Linked DNA regions of Homo sapiens: regions 1, 3 and 4 are each linked to region 2. Evidence: promoter capture Hi-C in 16 types of primary human blood cells and fetal thymus (Javierre and others, 2016). All regions are on one chromosome and are shown on one strand. The core of a region is centred on a gene start or on the middle of the fragment in contact, and the rest is flanking DNA. Distances in the headings are between cores, read along the strand shown.

Evidence for each region. Contacts are between HindIII fragments. The CHiCAGO score rates a contact against its expected background, and 5 or more counts as called.
Region 1: a contact is called between a fragment that was not itself captured here and the fragment with the promoter of TRPM6 in region 2, in 1 of 17 cell types (neutrophils). The highest score is 6.1, in neutrophils.
Region 3: a contact is called between a fragment that was not itself captured here and the fragment with the promoter of TRPM6 in region 2, in 2 of 17 cell types (neutrophils and total B cells). The highest score is 6.4, in neutrophils.
Region 4: a fragment that was not itself captured here is called in contact with the fragment with the promoter of TRPM6 in region 2 in 1 of 17 cell types (neutrophils); the score reaches 5.0 in neutrophils.

Annotation. Positions count from the first base shown.
Region 1 is chr9:75,021,288-75,025,879 of GRCh38, forward strand. All of the region lies in intron 1 of CARNMT1 (carnosine N-methyltransferase 1), which reads right to left. Among named protein-coding and RNA genes, the nearest start is that of CARNMT1, 4.7 kb to the right of the region's middle. RefSeq lists an enhancer at 2,795-2,844. The HindIII fragment of the contact is 5,061 bases long and covers 1-4,526 here.
Region 2 is chr9:74,884,675-74,889,299 of GRCh38, forward strand. TRPM6 (transient receptor potential cation channel subfamily M member 6) reads right to left here and starts at 3,247. Exons shown (of 39, transcript NM_017662.5): 1 at 3,150-3,247. The coding sequence starts at 3,182. RefSeq lists an enhancer at 2,339-2,633. The HindIII fragment of the contact is 4,553 bases long and covers 487-4,625 here.
Region 3 is chr9:75,065,401-75,070,167 of GRCh38, forward strand. It overlaps NMRK1 (nicotinamide riboside kinase 1), which reads right to left. Exons shown (of 9, transcript NM_017881.3): 5 at 4,495-4,642; 6 at 4,342-4,413; 7 at 3,596-3,702; 8 at 1,357-1,440. Among named protein-coding and RNA genes, the nearest start is that of NMRK1, 20 kb to the right of the region's middle. The HindIII fragment of the contact is 990 bases long and covers 3,023-4,012 here.
Region 4 is chr9:75,090,046-75,092,745 of GRCh38, forward strand. All of the region lies in intron 1 of OSTF1 (osteoclast stimulating factor 1), which reads left to right. Among named protein-coding and RNA genes, the nearest start is that of OSTF1, 2.9 kb to the left of the region's middle. The HindIII fragment of the contact is 2,112 bases long and covers 395-2,506 here.

The DNA of each region.
Region 1 (4,592 bases), core at 746-3,245, 140 kb after region 2:
CATAGTATATATACTACTATATACATACCATATATATTATATATAGTATATATACTACTATACATACCATATATATTATATACATAGTATATATCTACTATATACAGTATATATACTATATACATACTATATATAGTATAAATAGTATATATAATATAAATAGTATATATAGGATAAATATATATACTATATATATATATCTACTGTTCAAAAAAGGAGTAGGTATATCTCATTTATATTACTAAAATGTTCAAAGCATGAACAATGTAGAAATTAGAAGTACTCAGGAAAGAAGGCCTAATAATTCCTCTTCTAGAGGGAACCACTTCTAACCTTTTGGCACATTTCCGTTTTGCTTAACACAAAGTTGCAGTGGCTCATGCCAGTAATCCCAGTATTTTGGGAGGCCAAGGTGGGAAGCCTGTTTGAGGCCAGGTGTTCAAAACCGGCCTGGGCAATATAGCAAGACCATCCTCTCTACAAAAAAATAAAAAAACAAAATGAGCCAGGCGTGGTGGTGCATGCCTGTAGTCTCACCTACTTGGGAGGCTGAGGTAGGAGAATTGCTTTAGCCCAGAAAGTCAAGGGGGCAGCGAGCTATGATTGTGTCACTGCACTACAGGCTGCGTAACAGAGCAAAAACCCTGTCTCCAAAAAAGAGAAGAAAAAAAAAAGTCATCTAGCATCTTACTTTTTTTAAGCTGAATACTGACAAATTATAATTGTCTATATTTGTGGGGTACAAAGTGGATGTTCATCATTCCATCTTAGGTAACCATCAGTGACTTAGCTATTTCCCAACTACTGGGCATTTAGACACTCACTTGTTTTTGTGATGAACATTTTGTGTTCAAAATCTGTCTATAATTTAGGAAAAAAATTAGCATAAACTCTCAAAACCAGAATTACCAGGTGAGAAGGAATACTTTTTTTTTTTTTTTTTTTTTTTTTTTGGAGATGGAGTCTCACTCTGTCACCTAGGCTGGAGTACAGTGGCATGATCTCAGCTCACTGCCAGCTCTGCCTCCCAGCTTCAAGCGCTTCTTCTGGTTCAGTCTCCCAAGTAGCTGGGACTACAGGTGCACACCACCATGCCCGGCTAATTTTTATATTTTTAGTAGAGATGGGGTTTCACCATGTTGGTCAGGCTGATCTTGAACTCCTGACCTGAAGTGATCTGCCAACCTTGGTCTCCAAAAATATTGGGATTATAGGCGTGAGCCCCTACACCTGGCCAGGAGTTAGTATTTTTAAGGCTCTTGATATAAAATGATGTGCAAAAAGACTCCATAAATTTACATTCCTAACAGCAGAGTATGACATTAAAGGAACTAAAATGGCCACATCAAGTTAGGCAAACAGCAGAGCTTCAACAGTTGAACAGCCTCACAGAGCTTTCTTCCTAGTGTTTACTCCCGGGCTCTGGATGCCCCACAACTTCCCTCTCACCATACTCAAAACTCATATCCAAAGTGAACTTAGCACATGCCCCACAAAAACCTGCCCTCCTTCCTTCATGGCTAAGATTAACAAATGCACCCAAGTTAGAAATTAAAGGAGTCATCAGCCGGGCATGGTGGCTCACGCCTGTAATCCCAGCACTTTGAGAGGCTGAGGTGGGCAGATCACTTCAGGTCAGGAGTTCGAGATCAAGAACATCCTGGCTAACACAGTGAAACCCTGTCTCTACTAAAAATACAAAAAATTAGCCAGGCATGGTGGCATGCGCCTGTAATCCCAGCTACTTGGGAGGCTGAGGCAGGAGAATCGCTTGAACCTGGGAGGCAGAGGTTGCAGTGAGTTGAGATTGTGCCACTGCACTCCAGCCTGGGTGACAGAGCAAGACTCAAAAAAAAAAAAAAAAAAGAAAAAGAAATTAAGGAGTCATCCTAAATGCCTCTTCTCCTAGTCCCACAATCAATAAACCCAGGATACTTTTCAATTCTACTTCCTAACTCCTCCCCTGCCCTTCCTGCCCCACCTCTAATCAGAAGAATTATTCTAAAACACAAGTGTCATCTTGGTCATTATTCAATATCTCCGTATTTCAGCATATGTAAAAAGCAATAAATGTTCAGTTATATTCCCACGGGTGCCACTTTTGGTTTTCCATGGAGACTACTTATCACCAAGTAATATCAAGGTTGCAAGGGTGAGTTGAGATAAGTTATAGATTGGTTACAAGAGCTGTCAATTTTTGATACAGAAGTAACTACACAGAGCAGGATGAGATCCTTAAACCCCTGGTTACTTAATGGTGTGCAAAGCTGCCATAACATACATCCACCAGTGACTCTTAAAATAGGTGGGATCTTACTAAAGTTGAGAATATAGTCCAATCCTTATTATACCCTTATAACTGGGGCTAACTTCACTATCCTGCACATGCTTACGCTATCAGAATTGCTTTAAGGCAGGGGCCCATTGGCTACCTGGTTTTTGTACAGTCTTATTGGTACAAAGCCACACTATTTGATTACACAAAGCCTAAGGCTCCTTCCATTCAAGGGCAGAGTTGATGAGTTGTAACAAGAGACCACTTGGCCTTCAGAGCTTAAAATATTTACTGCCTGGCCCTTTTAAGAAACTCTGCCAAACCTGCTTTGAAGGAGTATTTTACAAAAATCAGACTCTCCTTGGTTCTGAACTAAGTCAGCATCAGGAGGTGACATCCTCTTGCTGATAAGAGGAGAAAGTAAACTTAGTAGCCATTTTTCCCCAATGGTGGTATCTCTACCTCTAACTCTCTCTAGAAACCTGGTGTCAGCAGTGACCTCAACTCTGATTTAGTCACCTGTCATCAGGGTGAGCCCACACCAGGTCTGATCTAAAGGCCATGGTCACAGGCCCATTCCTCTGCACCTAGTTGAACTACTCTAGGAAATCCAAATAGAAAAAACATAACTTGTCAGAAACAAAGCCTGGCCTGTCTTGATTCATTTTAAATCTTTATTAAATACCTAACATTAAATTTGTGTTACTAGTATAACTCCTCATTAATGCACAGTAAAATTTTAGGTAACGATTTTGGATTTTAGGTCAGATTCTACCACAACTGGATTGTGTAACCCTGAGCAAGTTGCTTACCGCTTTGTGTCTATCCACATCCTCACCTGTAAAAATCAGTTCTAAATCTCAATATTAAAAAATCTCACCCCGTTATTTCTAAAAGTAAGAAGTTTCTGAAAAGACTTTCAGCTTTTCAACTCTAGTGTTTTCTATGTGCTGAGGTGCTTCATTCGTAACAAGACTGGGTTATAAAACTAACATTTTTGCTATTCAATACAAATGAGCTATATCCATTTTTACCTTAATGAGAATGTCATCTAAGCAAAATCTGTGGGAATCACAAAATTGAAACCCATTAGAAAGAGAAAATATTAATCAAAAGACATTCCTTGCTTTATGACCTTTTATCTAAATCTCCTACGTATTAACTAAAAGACATTTTGCAGTAAAATTGAACCCTGCAAAATCTGGACGTACAGCTGACCCTTGAACAATACTTGGGTTGGGGCACCAACCCCCTGTGCAGTCGAAAACCCACACCTAACTTTGATTCACCAAAAACTTAACTACTAATAGCCTACTACTGACCGAAAGCCGTACCAATAACATAAACAACTGACAGATATGTTGTATGTTAATATATTACGTACTATATTCTTACAATAAAGCTAAGAAAATATTAAGAAAGTCGTAGGAAAGGGAAAATACATTTACACTACTGCACTGCATTTATCAATACTATAAGTTTACATAATTTGATTACAAGATGAATCCTCTGTCTGAAATGGGGTTGGGGGGCAACCTCCAACTGCAGACCTCTATCTACAGTACATATCAAACAAATCAACTTTTTCTTGTAATGTCTTTTTTCTCTGCTTCTTGGGAGCACCTGCAGCATCACCAGTGGCACGTCATATGGGACCCATGGTGTTATTTAAGGTTTATGGTATTGCATTAAATTTGATGAAATCTGTTTACTGCTATATGCAATTTACTTGACAGACAAAAGCAGAGTGATTATTTTAAGAAGATACTGGTAACATCTGAGCTTACTGCAAAAGCAACAGGAAGTGGCTACAAAATTATTACAGTAGTACAGTATCTACTACAGATAATTTTATGCAACTAAGATTTAATGCTACATCTTTGCTTGTTTACATTTATCTCAATTGCAAATAGCTCCATGTAAGATCTGTGTTTGTGTAAGTTTTGATAAATTTTAACTTTTTATAATAGATTTGTGTATATTTTATGGTAGTAAATGATAAACTAGTATCTACACATATGCATTCATGGCATAATTTTTTCTTAATTTTTTCACTATTTCTAGGCTATGCAAGTTTGCTAAGTTTTTCAAATTGTTGCAAATGTCAAAACAATTTTCCAATATGTTTATTTCAAAAAATTTGTGTATAAGTGGACCCGTGCAGTTCAGATCCATATTGTTTAAGGGTCAACTGTACTTGCTAAATGTGTAGAACCGGATTGTCCATCACAACCTACTTCGATAATGGAAAAGCTTTTATTTGCACTGTCCAGTACAGCAGACTCTAGCCACATGTAGCTATTGAGCACCTGAAATA
Region 2 (4,625 bases), core at 1,997-4,496:
TTACAACAAGAAATTATTTTTATATTGTTAGTGACAAAGTTTTTAAGGGAAAAACATCTGGAGAATTATTTTCTGTGATACACAATCAAGGAAAAAAACATATTCAATTCTGTTTACCTTACATGTACCTTTTCTTAGAAAGCTACTGGAGAATGTGCTCCATCAAAATGATAGAAGAAATCAAAAAAGACTAAGGTGTGGGATATAGGAAACAGGAGCCAGCATAACAGAGATGCAAAGTGAATCAGTCCCCAAATGATGGTGAAGAGAGAGCCCAAGGTAATAGCTGTGCATCAAACATCAAGAGCAACCAGTCTGGACTGGCAAAGCAGGTAAGAAAGCTGTGATAGAAATAAAATTGATTCAAATAGCTGTTGCATTGGACATCTTGAGGGAAGATTTAGACAACTAACAAAGAACTTGTGGTTAAATTGGTGAAAACTTTGCAAACACAGAGAGACAACTCTGGAAAAAAACAAGGAAGAAAGCTTTTAATAGCATGTAGGGAGGCATAATAATGTTGACCTAACTAAATATTGACCTAACCAAAAATTATGAGATAACTATATTCAGAGGATCTATGGAAGGAATAGGTAGGATGCATGTAAGTGGTAGTGGCAGGAAAACAGAAAAGAGTTAAATCCACACATTTCTTGCAGGAAAGTCAATGCATGATGACTAAACCTCAAAAACCAAGAAGGAGCAATTATAAGGAATATCTAGAGATACAGACAAATAGTAACTAGTTAAAAGAGATGAACATGATTACTTCTCTTAAAAAGCAGGAAGTGATGGAGGGTTCTACTGTTTTTAGATATTAACCCTATGGAATTAATTGATTCTGAACAATGAGAACGTAAAACTTCAATAAAACTAAGAAGTAAAGAAAAAAGGCACTAGTGAGACTCACATCATAATATCTTACCTAACAGTGATGGATTTTACAGAAAATAGTTGCCATGTAGACTTCTGATGTGTCACAAAGGAATAACTGAGTTATAGGTAGGATGGTCACTTTCAGTTCCAGCATGGTATTGATTCTACCAGAAGTATAATGAAAATCACTCAGATTATTTGGGCTGTTTATACTGAAAACTCATGATTTAAAACACAGTGAGGCCAGGCACAGTGGCTCAGGCCTGTAATCTTGGCACTTTGGGAGGCCAAAGAGGATTGCTTGAGCCCAGGAGTTCAAGACCAGTCTGGGCAACACAGCGAGACTCTGTCTCAAAAAAATAAAATAAAATAAAAAGTGAGAAATTTGAAAAAGAAGGAAAAAGAGAGAAGCCATATTTCAGGCACAGTATTTACCAAATGCTTGATAGTTTTGGCATAGATGTCCTATCCAAAAAATTAACTATGATAGATAATTGTAAATAGGCAAGATAAGACCAAAATTTGTGACAAATTGCAACATATTGCACGATTCTTTCCCTTCACCTCTGGTATAATGATCTCAAATGCTATTCATGCCCTTGTCTATCAAGACAAGTTTAACACTACCAAAGGGTACTAGTCTCCAGTTTTGGCCCAAAAAACAAAACTCATGCTAACTCCTACCCTAGATGGTTACCACTCCTGGTGGGAAACATAAGAAACAACCAGATTCTTAAAGTCAAGCCCAGATTCCAGTCTGGCCAAAATAGCTAACGCTTTATCAGTCCTGTAAGAACCCAAAGCAGATGACAGTGAAACATCAAAATCTGTATACAGGGGGAAAGAAATTGAATAACTCGTTTCCCACTTTAACAATTAAAGGTGATCATTTCTCCCTAGAACAAATAATCACAAATGATGTGTATGACTAGAACATCTATGTTCTCAGTGTCTTTTTTTCTCTTTTTTTTTTTTCTTTTTTATGTTCTCCGTGTCTTAAAGCACTGACCTGAGTTCAAATCTCAAATCTGCTTTTCTCCTTTGGTTTCATTTTCCTCACCTGTAAACCGGTGGAGATGGGAGAGACAGGATACTTGGACTTTATAGGATTACTGCCAGGATGAAATAGTTAAGAATCCCAAACTCTTACAACCTGCTAAATACGTCAGGCATTATTCTAAGTGCAAATGGCATGTAGCATTTCAATTCATCTTGAAACTACAAATCGTATTATCCCATTTTCCAGATGAGAAAGCCGAAGAACAGATGTTAACTCGCCCAAAATCACAGGTAGTGATGCAGCTGGGATGCTAATTCAGGCTACCTGGCTCCAGAGCATATGTTCTTATCAGAGCAGGCTGAAATGAGCTAACGTTTGCTAAGCTGCCTGGACTATTCCTGAAATACAATGTGCTCAATTATACTTATTTTTCATACACAGTGTGAGAAAGTCCAGACAAAATAGGCGAGACCAAGAAATTACCAGGATCTCCACTACTCTCCCAAGCGTCTCCAGTGCTCTCCCAACAGCCAGGAGCACCCTCCCTCTCCAAGCCCCCAGAACTTCCTGTTGCGCCATATGCCAGCGGTGGAGAGGAGCCAGCGGGGACTCCTGAGGTTGCAAGTCCGGGCGGCGCCGCGTTGGGGAAGGAAGCGGACTGCGGCGGGGCGGGTGTTTACCGTAACCGGCGCTGTCATCGCTCCGGGACTCCTGCACGGGGAACACTGGGCGCACGGGGACGCGCAGGGGCGCGGAGGGACGGCCGTCTGGGCACTTCTCCAGCCGCCTCGGAAAGCCGCGACCCCCGGCTAGTCAGCGTCCGGGTCTGAGATCTGTGCCCGTGGCAGCTCAAAACGCGCCTTCTCTCCTCCGGATTCTCAGCTCAAGCCACCTCCGAACTCCTCTCCCTCCGGCCCGGAGCGGAATCAGAGCTGCCTCCTCTCCCGGGGTGTTTCCCACCGCCCCGAGCTGAACCCCCGACCCCCGCTAGGTTTCCGCTCTGACACCACCTCCGCTATGGCCGCATCCCAGCTCTTGAAACGGGGGCTGCGGGACCTGCCCTGTAGTAGCGTACACTACCTTAGATAGGATAATCATCTTTGGGTGGAGACCAGAGAACTTGAAAGCCGGTATTTCATAAATCCTAGCTATTCTAGATCCTCGTTAGATGTAGTGTCCCTGGCCCCACCCACTTCTATCTAAGGCCGGGGGCGCAGATCTAGCGAATCGCCTAAGGTCCTTGTTCCCCGCCAGTCGAGCAGCCTGAGCTTACCTGCAAGCGCTCCAAGACAGGTTGTTCTTTCATCTTTGATTTGCAGGCCCTGCTCCCAAAGCCCTGTCTGAGCTTTTAACTGTGGAGGCAGAAACTCTGGGCTCCACCTCCACACGCTGCCTTTTACAGCCCAGTGGATCTGTCACAATACCTTTCGGCTTCAGTTACCTAACTGCCTAGAAAAGAAGGTGACTCTCAGTTTCCTTCGATAAAAGAAGAATAACGAGGATCAAATGGGATGGCCACTGTCATCACAGACATCCTTTGTAGTAATGTATTGTTACTGTTGAGTCAGTGTGGGGCGTGAGGAGATCAGAGATTTAAGCTAACGCACTGCTTTTACTACCTGTGACTTATTGGGCATGTCAAGCCTCAGTTTATTTATCTATGCAATGGGAATAATAGGGACAAAAATCCAGTTCCCTCACAAGGTTACAATGAACAAAGGAAATCACTTAATGTGCTTCATGTGTAACATACAATACAAATGTTTTGTTATTTCTGGTTTTTTTTTCATTTTTTTTGTTTGTTTTGTTTTGTTTTGGTGGATTCCTCTGGATAGGCATCTTCTCTTTCTTTCTTTCTTTCTTTCTTTCTTTCTTTCTTTCTTTCTTTCTTTCTTTCTCTCTTTCTTTCTTTCTTCTTTTTTTAGAGATGGAGTCTTGCTCTGTTGCCCAGGCTGGAGTGCAGTGGCAGGATCATGGCTCACTGCATCCTTGACCTCCCAGGCTCAAGTGATCCTTCCACTTCAGGCTCCAGAGAGTAGTTGGGACTACAGGCACACACCACAGTGCCTGGCTAATTTTATTTATTTATTTATTTATTTATTTATTTATTTATTTATTTATTTTAGAAATGGGGTCTCACTATGTTGCCCAGGCTGGTCTCAAACTCTGGACTCAAGCGATCTTCATGCCTCAGCCTTCCAGAGTGCTAGGATTACAGGCGTGAGCCACCATGCCCGGCCTAGGCAGTCTTGATTAAGGTTGTGGTCAGTGATTTGGGGTGGATCCCAGGGTGTTGGCAGAGGTGGCACAAAGCACACAGGCAAAATGATGCTCACATTATTACAAGTGTAATTAACAATGCTAGTCATTCATCCCTGACAACCGACTTAAAATTAGGGACACCTACTCATTTAGTTTATTATGAATTTTTGCCTGGTGAATTCACATTTGCAGACAGTTTACAGGTTTTTTCCCCTCATTTCTCAATGTGGTTTTAATAAGCATTTCTTTGTTTATTGGAAAATTGTAATCTCTCATATGTGTATTGGCATTTTGTTGTTTTTCTTTTTGTTGTTGTTGCTGTTGTTGTTGAGCCAGGGTCTCGCTCTGTCACCGGGCTGGAGTGCAGTGGCACTATGTCGGCTCACTGCAACCTCCACCTCCTGGGCTCAAGCAATCCTCCAGCCTCAGCCCCCGCAAGTAGCTAGGACTACATGTGCAAGCCACTACACCTGGCTAATTTTTGTAA
Region 3 (4,767 bases), core at 2,268-4,767, 180 kb after region 2:
CATCATGATCTGTCTGCCTCGGCCTCCCAAAGTGCTGGGATTACAGATGTGAGCCACTGTGCTTGGTAGCTAATTTTTAAAAAATTTTAATTTTTGTAGAAATGGAGTCCCTCTCACTATGTTGCTCAGGCTGGTCTTGAACTCCTGGCCCCAAGCAATCCTCCCAATTTAGCCTCCCAAAGTGCTGGGATTATAAACGTGAGCCATTGCAACTGGCCAGAGAAATTTTTAAAATCAGAAGGTGTTAGGTGGGGTATTCAATTACAAGATGGGTTATGTGATGTAGGCCTGGCCAATCAGAGTATGCCATCTCCCTGGCCATAGTGATTGGTTTGGCAAGTCATGTGATCCAGCAGGACCAATCATCTGGGCTACAACAGAACATTGCTTTTTAGAAAACTATTTAAAATAAAGAATTTCAAATTTATGCAAAAGAAGTGAGAATAAATATGAACCTCCTTGTACTCAATATCCAGCTCCAACATTTATCAACTCGTTGTCAAATCTTGAAAAAGATATCTTTTTACCCTGGGACTGATGGACCTAGGAGGATGTTGTTGTCAACAGACATCAGGTCAGTGGAGAGCCTGACTTCAAAATAAACCCTAAATAGAAAGTAGAATAGAAGCAGAGTCCTGAGGACCTTATTTGAGTTCCTTAACCCATTAATGTTGGAGGTTGCAAATTATTTTTGTGAAAAACGAGACCTTGGTGATGACCTTCAGCAGTAGGATATAAATAACTCCTACAAGCTTAGAGTTCCAACAATGGAACACTAGGCATAAATGAGTTAATCCAGCTGAGCCTGAAGCCACCATTACCCCTGTACTGTCTTTCTGCTGTAGCCATATTTAGGCAGATCCCTGTCACTTGCAAACAGTGCCGTCCAATATGAAAACCTTAAACAAACACTTCATAATACTTTTTAAAATCTTTTGTTTATCTTTGAGGTATTTGGAAAGTAGAAATTTTACAGAAAGTCTTTAAGGGAATAAAAGAAAAGGGGAGCTCTGGACATACTAAAAAAAATCATCAGCATTTTAATTATACTGTGCCCAAAGGATACTTCCAGTCCCATTTGGTACAGCCATCTACTAAAAGTTTTAAAGTAAATCACATAAATAGCATTAAGAGATGTAACAAAGGGTACATGGTTTTACCCCTAAAAACAGACAAAATAATTGAGTCTCCAAACCCCCCCCCAGAATTTCTGATTCTGAATTATCCTCAAAGCAAAGAATGGATGAGCACAATCACTCCTACACTAGCATTCTGGTATTCCATTCTTTCATATGTAATGAATGATTTTCCTGGCTGTTTCTCCTCTACCATCCACTTTGTTAGCACAATACTTACACTTTTGCTTTGCTAGTTCTTGTATTAGATCTTCATATACTTGCAAAAAGAGGTCCTCTTCAGATTTTGTTCCATCCAGGTACACTACGAAGGGGAAAAGAGAGCAGTTCAAATGCTAACAGGCTTATTAATATACAATGTTTACTTTGACACCCAACATCTCTTGTAAATGCCAATAGGTTTAACCAAGGCACCCAGGACCATAACTTAAAAGGAAATTAATAGTGATTAAAGAAAGAAATAGATGCTAGCCAGCTATAATAGGTCAAAAATATTGGATTGTTACAGATAAATCCACACTGGCTTATGTGAAAATTATTTAATTAAAAGAGAAGAGAAAGAAAGAAGAAAGGAGGAAAGAAACAGAAGAAAGAAAGTGGTGTTGTGCATACGGCACTTTAGGTGCACTGAAGGTGTTCACCCAAAAGGGTCACTTAAGGAGTAATTCTTCAACATACTTATACATCAGGATCACCTGGGAAGCTTCTTAAACAATGCAGTGGTCTGGGATCTGCAACATATGTACAAACTCAGAATTCACCAGGCTCAGAAAATATGTATTGTGTGTGTGTGTATGTTTGTGTGTGTGTGTGTGTGTTTTCTGCTATCAGAGAAAAGACGTATTTTTAATAAAACTGGCATAAGCAGCTTTGGAGAAAAAGTAGAAGTTGTCTAGGTTAAAGGAAGGAAAGGGCCTTCTGGTCAGAAAACAGCATGAGTAGGGAGAGGCAAGAGCACTGATGCACCCTTTGGAATGGCTAGAATATGGGGAAGCTCCAGGAACAGCGTGAGATGAGATTTTAGAGCAAGGGTGTACCTCAGTACCTCAGTCGTTAGAGGCCTTGATGTCTGGCTGTTTGGATTGTATCTCAAAGATCTGGAGATGACTCAAGGTATTCAGCAGAGCAGGAGCCTGATTAGATTTGCATTTTAGGTAAAAGGGAGAGAAGGGAAGCAAGAGGATGTTCTTGCAACCAATGGTCCAAGTTGGACGTGGTGCAGCCAGAATCTCAGCATTGGCCCTGGGGGTACACTCTGTGTGCATTCCACATGGCTCTGACATAGCTGCCTATCCTGGAGGCCAACAGGCTTCTCACAACACAGACAAGTCCCCTTTATTGTGAAAAGCATACATCAGTTCTAACTCCTTTGCCTTATCCAACAGCCTTCTGCCATCTTCCCTGCATTGAGTGCCCTATTCCAGTGATCTGTTCTTAGCTCAAGCCCACAGATCCGGATGCTTACCTCCAAATTGCTACATATGTCTCCCAGGCACCTCAACCTCATTATGTGCAAAAGAGACATGCATTCCTCCCTTACAGGTCTGCAATGCCTTCACTTTTTTCTAACATCTGTCAGTTGCTGAGGCATCTGTCATCTTCCCGCCCCCTCCATAGCTGTTCTATCACCCAGTTCTACTGAGTGCGGGCGTCCAACATCACACCCTATAAATCTATCCTCCTCCATTCTCCACACAGCCAGAGGGGTCTTAACTAAAACAAGAATTTTTATCAATCATGCCCTTGTTTAAAACTTCTCTCTAGAGAGCTTCTTACTTCTCTGAGAACAATGATCAAAGTCCTTACCTAGATTATTGGCCTTATAGGGTCTGGACCCTGCCTGTATCACTAGCATCAATCCACTCCCCTGGTTTTCTTTACTAGAAAGCTTTCTCAACACCAGCTTTCTTTCAGGGGTTTCTCATTCCTTCCTGTCCCCTGGCCCTTTCGTGTGCCACACCCACTTTCTGGGGTAATCTTCTATCTCCCCAACCCATCTCCTTTGTTCAGTTAAACTCATTGAAGTTTGGTTAAATGTGACTTCCTCAAGGAAGCCTTTCCTGACTACCGGGATCTCGGCAGTCCCCTAGAACTTGGTGTCGCAGAACTTACAGCAGCTGGAAAGGACAGGCTTGGGCCGCTGGTATCTCTAGCACCTGTTTCCATGATAGAATGTTACCTGCATAAGAGCAGGGGCTGGGTCTGCCTCATTCCCCTCACCATCTCCAGGGCAGCACTGGAAGGCATTCATTCAATACTGGTTGAATGAATAACCATCCAGAAGCTGACAAGAGCCACAGAGAGAAACAGAAACCAGGAGAACCAGCTATGGAAAAGGAGAAGCCCAGAGTGTTCTTGCTTAAGCATCCCTTTATACTTTTCTATGAGTCCTTTCTTTTCTATACTTTGAGGCAAATGACAAGTAAAAGGCCTTGAACAGAAGGAGAAAAGGCACTTACCAACTTCCCATGTGATGTCCTGCATTTCTTGTCTGTACTTTAGATACATGGGCCACACATGGCCATCAAAGTATCCCGGAGAGTCTGGAGGCTGATAGACCCTTGTACTATCAAAACACGTAGGAAACTTTATGTTGACAGAAACACACAATTGATAAAGTAAAATATGAATGGTCAGGATAATGGGGAAATCACTCAGAGGCTGAATCTAAACAGGATTAGGACTACATGTACTACATGTTTTAACTCAATGGCAGTTAGAACGACAGTAACATGGATTTAGTTCTTTGATATTAAAATTAACTTTGTAATCCACTGACTATCATTCTTAATTATTCTTTTTCCTTCTAGTGCTTTATAAGAGAACTAAGAGACAAATAGTGTAAATAACAATGGAGAGACCACTATGTTGGATTAAGCTTTGAACTAATTGGTGTTCTTTGTAGCTGTGGCAGAACAGGCTCACTTACATTAAAATCCTAATCACCATGGGCTTGCTTTGTTTGAGGATTTAGGAGAAATGAGCCGAAAGCTTGATATAAGGCCCTTTTCTTAGAAAGTAATTTGCATTACTCCATGCGGATGACCATTTATGGAAAAGAGTTTTGCTCCTTTTGTAAAAGAGTTAAGGCTTCCTGTCTCTGAAAAATGACGTATACGCATTGCTCAATAATGTTGCTGTCCTCATTTTTCTTCTACATTTTTTGTTTTGAATTACAACTCACAAAGATGGCTTCAAAACTTACCTCCTCCTCCTTTTACATTCTTCATATGGAATAGTCAGGAAATAGCTTCTATTCCATATAGTGTCAAGGGGCCTAAAATAACAGCATACTTAGTTCACAAGGGTTTTTATCCCCCCATTCACTCAGAGACAATATTAGGGTGGAGATGCTTACTTATAATTAAAAAGAAGAAAACCTTCGATGATTAAAATGGGAATTTCCTCAGCACTTTCCTGGTCTGTTGATACCACAGAGTGTCTTGCGCTTTCCATCCAGCAGGAAATGGCTGACATCATTTTTTCCATGTTAAGTGCTTCAAGCACTTCAAACAAACACACAAAAATATGCAATCAATATAGCACAAAATTTTGTGATGTGACTTTTTGTGATGAGTATATCCAGGATTCTGTAAATATATACACCACCATTTTATTTCCCTTCAAAACT
Region 4 (2,700 bases), core at 201-2,700, 200 kb after region 2:
TGGAATCTGATGAGAAATTTCCATTTTAAGTGCATATGTATGAGGTAGCTTTCTAAACTCAGGTGCAAATCAGGACCTTAAGTATCTAACAGTGCAGAGTTGTTCTTTGATAGCTAAACAATATTTTATTTATCTTATTTTTTTCTGATCACCTGCTGCCAGTTGAAATACGTTAAAGAATGCCCTTTTTAAAAATCTCTTCATGCGTATTAAATGCTGTCTATATTGCAAATGGAGGGACATTGACAGGTGTGTGTGTGTGTGTGTGTGTGTGTGTGTGTGTGTACACAGTAATGTATACATGTGGGTTCATTCACACTTGGGGGTTTAAGGGTCATCCTGTTACTAATTGTGGATACATTCCCAGGAACCTCCTTTCTCCTTCACATCAGAAAGCTTATGGTTAAACATGACAGGTGTTTAGAGGGAACTTTGCATTTTATTTTATTTTAATTTGTTTTATCTGGTCCTTGATTCAGGATAAAGGGAATTTTGAATCAACATTAATTTACAAATGAGATCCAGACACAAAGTTACCATAGAAATGGGTTTGCCAGTTTAGTAATTTACAGTGAGAAACATTACTGCCAATCAGAGTTGAAACTTTGTGTGGGCTAGCTTAGTTGAAGAAAAAAAAAAAGCGATGGCCAGGAGCAGTGGGCCATGCCTGTAATCCTAGCACTTTATGAGGCTGAGGTGGGAGGATTGCTTGAGGCTAGGAGTTTGAGACTAGCCTGGGCAACATAGCAAGACCCCGTCTCAACAGAGTACAAAAAACAAAAACAGAAATGTCCTATCGTAGTACTGTCCCACATTTACTGTGTGTTAGGCAATGGTATAGTCACTTTACACGTGTTAACACATTTGCTGCTCTCAACAATCTTATGAGATCAGTACCATTATATTGTTCCTGTTGCACAGATGGGGAAATAAAGATGCGCAGAAATGTTATTTAACTTGTCTAAAGTCAACAGTTAGAGTGGGGGATGTAGCAGGCAGTATTAAAACCCAGGTAGTCTGGCTTTGAAGTCTGCACTTTTTTTTTTTTTTTTTTTTTTGAGACAGACTCTCGCTCTGTTGCCCAGGCTGGAGTGCAGTGGCGCGATCTCGGCTCACTGCAACCTCCGCCTCTCGGGATCAAGCAATTCTCTGCCTCAGCCTCCCGAGCAGCTGGGATTACAGGCAGCCCGCCACCATGCCCGGCTAATTTTTTTTTTGTATTTTTAGTAGAGACAGGATCCAGGCTGGTCTTGAACTCCTGACCTTGTGATCCACCCTCCTTCGCTTCCCAAAGTGTGGGATCACTGTGCCTGGCCAAAGTCTGCACTCTTAACCATTTGCTATTCTGCCTTAAGTCATAGTGCTCCATTCACACTGGCGGTCAAATGTGTATTTTAGAGCTGGTGGTCAGGAAGTCGAAAGGGAGGGGCCTCTGGTCTACAGACTTTCTTGTCACAAATGCACATAAAGGTCAGCCCCTGGTTGACAGCAAGGAGAGTGGTGTGGAGCTTTACTTTCTTGTCCTGCAGGCAAGCTGCATGGATAAAAATCTCCAAAGACAGCATGGGATTGGGGGCTTTGGGGTTGTATTTAATTTTTTGGTTTGTTTAAACCTTGCCTCATTCCAAAAGGACTTCTAAAAATACACATGATCTGAGAGAGAGGAAAAAGTAAAGATAAAGCATGGTCATCTAGAGGAAGGGAAGAATAGTAAGATGAAACAAGAGGAAAAGCTAGCTTACAGACAGACCTGCATGTGTAGTAAGGTCACTGTAGATTTGGCTCTCAGCTGCAAGCAGAGAGAAAAATCTCAAGATTCATAGTGCTCATAAAATTAAAATGTGTCACTTACTCTGAAAAGTAGTTATTTTAATGGCATTGAGATCTGAGACAGATTTTCCTGTGGGTTCTCTTAAAGTATTGGAGTGGCCTGGATATCTCTAGCAGAAATACAAGACAGAACATCCTAGCCATGTTTCTTACAGCTTCTTTCAGAGCAAGATTTGGGCAAAACAGCATGGCTCAATTCAGTAGACAATACTAAAAGGAAAGGAGCTAGGTGAGTAAGGACAAAGGACTTGCTGGAAGATATTAAAAACAAGGGACATTAAGCTATAATGCAGGCTAATAGCATCTTTCTGGCTGATCAGCACATCCCCAACAGGGGGCCGATTTGTGGAAGGAGGCTGCCCAGGGAAGTCCCGGGCAGATGCTAGTGGGAGACCCTGGCCATTTTTGTACCATCTGGAGGATAGATCAGGGTTACCTTGTTTGGGTTTTTGGCCATATCCAGAATTCATTTGCTAAACAAATGTTTCTTAATAAATGTAGCTCATATATTAGGCCCTGTGCTAGACACTGGGGTTCCCAGGAACAATAATCTATGGTGTCATTCACGAGGGTCCTGAGTCTAATGGGGAAGACGTATGTATCTACAGATATTACCTAGAGTATCCCATATTTACAAGTGGATGGCTGATCTCATTCATTTTGTTTTTTTTAAAAAAGCTTGTAAGTAAAAATATAATTTTTTTATTTTTAGAAAATTTAGAAAAAGGTAAACAATAAATATATAACTAAAATATAGGAATCATCCCTGTCATCTACTGATAATCACTATTTACATTTGGTTGAATATTCTTTCAGGTTTCTTTCTTCTTCACATCCATTTCATTTCAAAAAAGAAAATAAAAACAATTA